Linked DNA regions of Homo sapiens: region 1 is linked to region 2. The links are contacts of gene promoters, found by promoter capture Hi-C in blood cells and fetal thymus (Javierre and others, 2016). All regions are on one chromosome and are shown on one strand. The core of a region is centred on a gene start or on the middle of the fragment in contact, and the rest is flanking DNA. Distances in the headings are between cores, read along the strand shown. Region 1 overlaps SYNE1 (spectrin repeat containing nuclear envelope protein 1). Region 2 holds the start of SYNE1-AS2 (SYNE1 antisense RNA 2).

Region 1 (3,342 bases), core at 255-2,754, 110 kb after region 2:
TTAAACTAGGCAAAATATTAGCTTTACATGAAAAACAGAGATCATTACATTAATCTAATGCAGAAAGATAATGTTAAAAATGTGTCAAGTTAAAATGCATGCTAAGAAATGTTCAGAAATTAAAGTCTGGTTAATACTTTAGCAGTCTAATGAGGTACGCTGTTAAAATTATATTTATTTTGTATAACTGGGGTCTAAGGATACTGAGGCACACATTCTCCTACATATTCATCACCGTGAGGTAGGAAAATGCTGCCTGGCTGGGACAAGAACCCAGGAGCATGTGACAATCCTTCAGAAGGCAGGAGGAAAGAAAGATATTTTTAGATGTTAATTAAGAGCTATGAAAGCATGGCATGGTAAGCATGTTTATCAACACAGGGTAACTTAACAGCTTTAGGAGTGAAACGTTGTACTTTGTCTTTCTTCTACTTTACATCTTTCTAGTTTTGGAAGCAGGATAACCTTGGAATAGACTGCCTGTTCATATGTGTAGTCAGATAAAGTTGCATTCTTTTGCAGTATATATCTTTCAGTATAACATAAAAATGAGAACATTTCATCTAGAGACAGCATATTGAGAAATAGTGGTTTCAGGTTTTTTACACTCTTGTGACTTCTGAAGATAGAGATCGAAGTGCATAGCGTCCATTTTTAGGCCTTATTTTGGTAAAAAACTACCTTCTGTAGGTCTTTCTGCTATCCCACAGTCACCCACCCTTAGCCACATTTGCAGAGGATGCTATGAAAGCACGAAATGAGAATTAACCCTTGTTATCCAAGACCAGACCAATCAGGAGGATGGTCAGGGGCTTGGGGGACTATTCCAATGCCATTTACTTCTGAGCTTCCCCCATTTTATCACTAGACTGCTAGTCTCCCAAACCCCTCTCCTTTCTAAAGGGGCCTCAGTGTCTCCCAGTTCTCTTTAGCTGCTACTTCAGTTTTCTGTTGCCAGCGGCCACCTCTTTCTGATCTGAAGGGGTGTCCCTGTTGCTCCAGTGTGCTCCCTGTGGCTCCTAGGTCTTCCTTGCTCCTGCGGTTCTGTCTGTCCAGCTGTTCCCTGCACCTCTGCTTCACTGTACTGGAAGGAGCCAGAGAGCTTCCTTCAGGTTGAGTATGTGCTCCTCAGGCCAACCTCGATGGCTGTTCTGTAGGAGGCCCCGTTCTTTAAGCATTCAGAAGGAATATAGTGTAAATTATGCAAGGGCTGGATTAGAGTGCATTTGAGAGTCACTCACTCAGATTATCAGATGACGATGTTGCAGAAAGTTTAAGTAGTTTGACCCTCTCTCCAGCTTCAGGACATCTCCACCTTTGTTCAAGCCCCCATTCTTGTGGCCCAGGAGGCTGCCCACAATTGCCAAAGACCCATCACTGGCTCCCACAATAGTTAGGAGCTGCATGAAAACAGGATACTGGTGGCCTGCTCTGCCCTTCCAGAGTTCGTACATGAAAATGCAAGTTAGCTTCCAATCAGCACCACCACCCTGTTGCTCAGGCATTAGGATGGAAACACACATAAACTGAATGTGGAGCAAAATGATGATTCTGTTCAAGGGATTTAATGGAGACAACTCAAAATTGCACATTAATTCTGATAATTATAAATTAGAAGTGAATCTGTGACTTTTCTTGTCATTAAGGCCAACCACATGACTTTTTTTCCCTTTCTAAGTTGGTAGTAGTCGTACTAGCCATCACAGCAGTAAGGAGGTACAGCTAATTTAGTGAAGATTACCAGTCATTGGGGCTTAATGGTTTATTAAGAGAGAAAATATATTAATATATCATATTAATATAATTGCATATATTAATATATCATATTAATATAATTGCATATATTAATATATCATATTAATATAATTGCATATATTAATATATCATATTAATATAATTGCATATATTAATATATCATATTAATATAATTGCATATATTAATATATCATATTAATATAATTGCATATATTAATATATCATATTAATATAATTGTATATATTAATATATCATATTAATATAATTAGAACATATTAATGTTCTAATGAGAGGGAAAGAAAATAGCAATAATGTAGAATTTAGTATATAATTTCATGTATCATCACATATTTCATCTGAGCTATTTTTGCTACCTTTTGCTGTCTGTGCCAGAAGTTCTACAAGTTCTGGAACACAGCTGCCCACATGAAAAGCTGGTGGTATCACAGTATCTAAATTTGTTCTTAGCTTCAGGAATGGTACTTTAAAAATGTCAAGCACTGTTATAGAATTACTATTTCTAAATTTCAACTGAATGGGTGTGAGGAAGTCCAGTATGGTTTTTTATATTTCCTAAAAAGTAATAGAAATACTTTAGTTTTTATTTCTTTCCCAACACTCTCTTGGAAGTATTCATGTTTTTTTAAGGAGGTAACCTAATTCCTACATTTTTCCTTTAAACACTTGTCTAAACTACTGAATTTGTGTGGAATGCTGTGCCTTTCTGGTTATCCTCTCTAAATTGTCTTATAGATTTCTTTTTTTTGAGACAGAGTCTCAGTCTGTTGCCCAGGCTGGAATGTAGTGACGTGATCTTGGCTCACTGCAACCTCACCTCCCAGGTTCAAGTGATTCTCCTGCCTCAGCCTCCCGAGTAGCTGGAATTACAGGTGCTTGCCACCACGCTGGACTAATTTTTGTATTTTTAGTAGAGATGAGGTTTCACCATGTTGGCCAGGCTGGTCTCGAACTCCTGACCTCAGGTGATCCACTTACCTCGGCCTCCCAAAGTGCTGGGATTACAGGTGTGAGCCACCATGCTTGGCTGTCTTACAGATTTCATTTTAAGGTTTGAATGCAGTTCATGAGCTGACTTGTGGCTGTTGTACTGACTGTTAAGCCCTCTGTCATTGCGACCTTATTATCATGGGCATCTGATGCTTTAGGGACATGTGTTGCCACACAAAGCTCAGTGATATATAGCGCACAGAGGTCTGTGGTTATTTTGTTTTGTTTTGTTTTTTCATATATGTAACAACTAAAATAGAATGTGAGAAGAACTGTGGTCTCTCATCTGATCTTGGAAGTTAAGCAGGGTTGGGCCTGGTTAGTACTTGGATGGGAGACTGCCCAGGAATACCAGGTACTGTAGGCTTAAAAAAAAAAAAAAAAAAAAGGCTGGGCGCGGTAGCTCATGCCTGTAATCCCAGCACTTTGGGAGGCCAAGGCGGGCGGATCACGAGGTCAGGAGATCGCGACCATCCTGGCTAACATGGTGAAACCCCGTCTCTACTAAAAATACAAAAACTTAGCCAGGCATGGTGGTGGGCGCTTGTAGTCCCAGCTACTTGGGAGGCTGAGGCAGG
Region 2 (3,260 bases), core at 341-2,840:
CTGAATTTCGGAAGCATTTCAGCCAAGTTGCCTCATGGACCATTTCATGTCTAGACAGGAACAGAACCCCCTCTTTTTTTGGTGTTTTTGATGTTGGTTGTTTGTTTGTTTATTGAGACAGGGTCTCACTCTGTCACCCAGGGTGGAGTGCAGTGGTGCAATCTCGGCTTACTGCAACCTCTGCCTCCCAAGCTCAAGCAATTCTCCCACCTCAGCCTCCCTGGTAGCTGAGACTACAGGCACGTGCCACCATGGCAGGCTAATTTTTTAAATTTTTTGTAGACAGGAGGTTTTGCCATGTTGCCAAGGCTGGTCTTGTACTCCTGAGCTCATGCAATCTGCCTGCCTCAGCCTCCCAAAGTGCTGGGATTACAGGTGTGAGCCACTGCGCCCAGCCTAGAAACCCTTCTTATGAATGTTGATGTTCTTATTGATATTTTCCTAATGCTGTTACTGAATAACTGGGTTTAGAGGGATCACCACTATAAACCTCCCTTCACGGCCCTTCAGATGGCACAAATCCACGGGAACCATGAAGCAGGCCAGGGTAGATCAGCACTGGTCAGAACACCTGGGCTACTTCAGTGCCCAAGCCCTGGAAGCATCCAGCATGGTGGGTCTCTTTTGGCTGGCAGCCCCACTGGCTCCAGGCTCAGGTTTCTGCTGCATCCCTTTAGCTTCCATATGTGTTGCTGCTTCTGTTGATTTTCTCTACATTTCCTTTCTTCTTCTTGTGCTTTCTCTTTGATTTGCTACTTTGGGCTAAGCAATCAATCTAGTTGATCAGTTATGCTTTTGCTCTGACCTGAGACTGCTTGTTCAGCAGTACCATTAGGGATGATATACATGCACAGGAATGCTAGAAGTTTCGTGTGAAGTAAGAAGACACAAAGGAGGTGCTATCCATATGCAAAAAAGATAAAGAGTCCTTATGCATGCCGCCTGTGTTGGGGATATCAATGGTTAACAGTTGGACTTTTACAGAGTTGAGCAGGATCTTCAGAGAGTTATTGGTGTACTCTAGTCTTCTCTTTCTTCCTTTCTCTCTCTCTCTCTCTCTGTTTCTCTCTCTCTCTGTCTTTCTCTCTCTCACACACACACACACGTGTGCACATACATGCACCCCTATGTATACTCAAGGAAGAGGTGAGGGGGTGGCTTACCTTACCTCAAGGCAGAAGGGTTCCGGCAGTGCCACCTGAAGAACAGGATATTTGTCCCCTGCATTTGGCAGGCATGGGAGTCTGATCTCTATCCCCCAAAGAATCCTAAAAGTGACAGACAGGCTGGCTAACTGCTGCTATATTTGCCAAAGGATAAATGATGGCTTGTGGGGTCCTGCACCTCAAAGTTAGTTGGAGGTAAATGCCAGAGGTCACTCTGGCCCAAATATGAACCAGGAGAGGAAAAGAAAGGAAGAGACCACCATATGAGGATATTATAGGTGGCCTAAGAAGGCTATCTGGAGGATAAACAGACCTTAGCAATGAGAAGTTAAAGAAAGGCCTCCAGGCTGAGGAATGAGAAAGTAAAGAGCCAAAGAACAGCGCACTGTCGTGTCTAGGGAACTTCACTGGGAAGTCCAAGCATGAAAAAAGTCAGAAAAACACAAGACCAAGGCCTATGGGAGGAGGAATGAATGCTAAACCTTGCCTGGCCTAGAGGGCACAGATGCCCATCCAGTGAGTCAGAATGCCTCACCCGCCTCCTGCCAGTCTGAGCCTATGGGAGAAAGAAGCCTTACACAGGGTGGCAGAATAGAAATAAAATGAAGGAAGAGAAAGAAAGATATTTACTCCCTTCCACACTGTTGGTCTCCTGCTCCCAGCAGATCTGAGGTGGGGGTAAGAATAGAAGCCTTCAATTTAAGTTAAGTTCAAAGTTTTCATTACCAAATAGGCCAGGATGTTTGAATTGTGGAATTGAGATTGTTTTTCAATGTATAGTGACTATATGTCCTTTGACTAACTAGGGGGCCATAGAAGTCGACCCTCCTCAGCTATATCATCCAGGGAAAAGAGAATAACTAGCCCCACTCAATATTTTAAAGCAACAGTGGGGACAAAAATAAAATTGTTTTATGATAAAATCCTACAGTGATGTTTGCCCCAGATAGTGTTACATCTGAGCAGACAATGGGTATTTCCAGGGAGAATCAAGAGCAGATTTTTGGTCACCACCTGGGAATTCTGGGTAGGTCTAGCTCTACTTTCAGAATGCCCTCTCACATCTTCCCTGGAACCTCAGTTAGAGCTTCCACTCTCCCACCCAGTGTTAACACAATCCTTCCTCTTTCTATTTGCCCATCACTTCATGTGTTTGGCAACTGTGTCCACTGATTTTCCTTCTTGGAAAGGCATATTAACATTGGAGCTGGCTTCCATGATGAGACTTGTGTGGCTTTGACAATTAAGCTGCACGTGAACAGAATTTCTACTGAATGAGTATTCTTCTGGTCTTCAGAGATATTGATGAAATCTTGCTTGATATTTAGTTTATAGAAGCAGACTTAATGCAGAAACTGGAGCATGCCAAAGAAATAACTGAAGTAGCAAAAGGAACCCTGAAGGATTTCACGGCTCAAAGTACACAAGTGGAGAAGTTTATTAATGACATAACAACATGGTTCACAAAAGTGGAAGAATCGTTGATGAACTGTGCCCAAAATGAGACTTGTGAAGCATTGAAAAAAGTCAAGGTAGGTAATAAACTATCATTAAGTGCTTCCATTCAAATGGTGATTGTAGTTCTGTTTTGTGGTGACTATAATAAAAAATATAACCTCTGCTCTCAGTTACCCATATGAACACCAGACCAACTTATTTATGACATTGAACACAGCAAAGTAAGCAACACGTGAAGAACTGGGTGCAGGTGTTCAGAAATCAAAAATGAATACCTTGAAAATAGAAAGCATGTGTTGCTGTAGTGCCTGCTCAGAGTCTATGCTTGTTCAAAGTTTTTTTTTCTTTTTTATAAAAGGGTGGAGCCTCTGGAAGAACTATGTGACTTCCACAAATTTTCAAACTTGAGTATCCAATAGTTTTTCATCACTTAATTATATTTATTGGTCACTGTGACTTCTTTCATCCAGATAATGTATATTTTTTGAAAAAGAAGAAGTTGAGAAAACATTCTATTTCCATGTTTTCTATTTTTTTATTTTTATTTTTTGAGATGGAATCTCACTCTGTCACCCAGGCTGGAGTGCAGTGGCACAATCTGGGCTCACTGCAACCTCCCCTCCCAGGTTGAAGTGA

The links. The method cuts DNA at HindIII sites, captures the fragments that hold promoters and counts their contacts. A CHiCAGO score of 5 or more calls a contact.
Region 1: a contact is called between a fragment that was not itself captured here and the fragment with the promoter of SYNE1-AS2 in region 2, in 1 of 17 cell types (neutrophils). The highest score is 5.4, in neutrophils.

The regions. Positions count from the first base shown.
Region 1 is chr6:152,289,736-152,293,077 of GRCh38, reverse strand. All of the region lies in intron 95 of SYNE1 (spectrin repeat containing nuclear envelope protein 1), which reads left to right. Among named protein-coding and RNA genes, the nearest start is that of SYNE1-AS1, 89 kb to the left of the region's middle. The HindIII fragment of the contact is 4,286 bases long and covers 1-3,342 here.
Region 2 is chr6:152,400,576-152,403,835 of GRCh38, reverse strand. SYNE1-AS2 (SYNE1 antisense RNA 2) reads right to left here and starts at 1,590. Exons shown (of 2, transcript XR_007059819.1): 1 at 1,169-1,590. It overlaps SYNE1 (spectrin repeat containing nuclear envelope protein 1), which reads left to right. Exons shown (of 146, transcript NM_182961.4): 47 at 2,495-2,698. The HindIII fragment of the contact is 21,096 bases long and covers 1-3,260 here.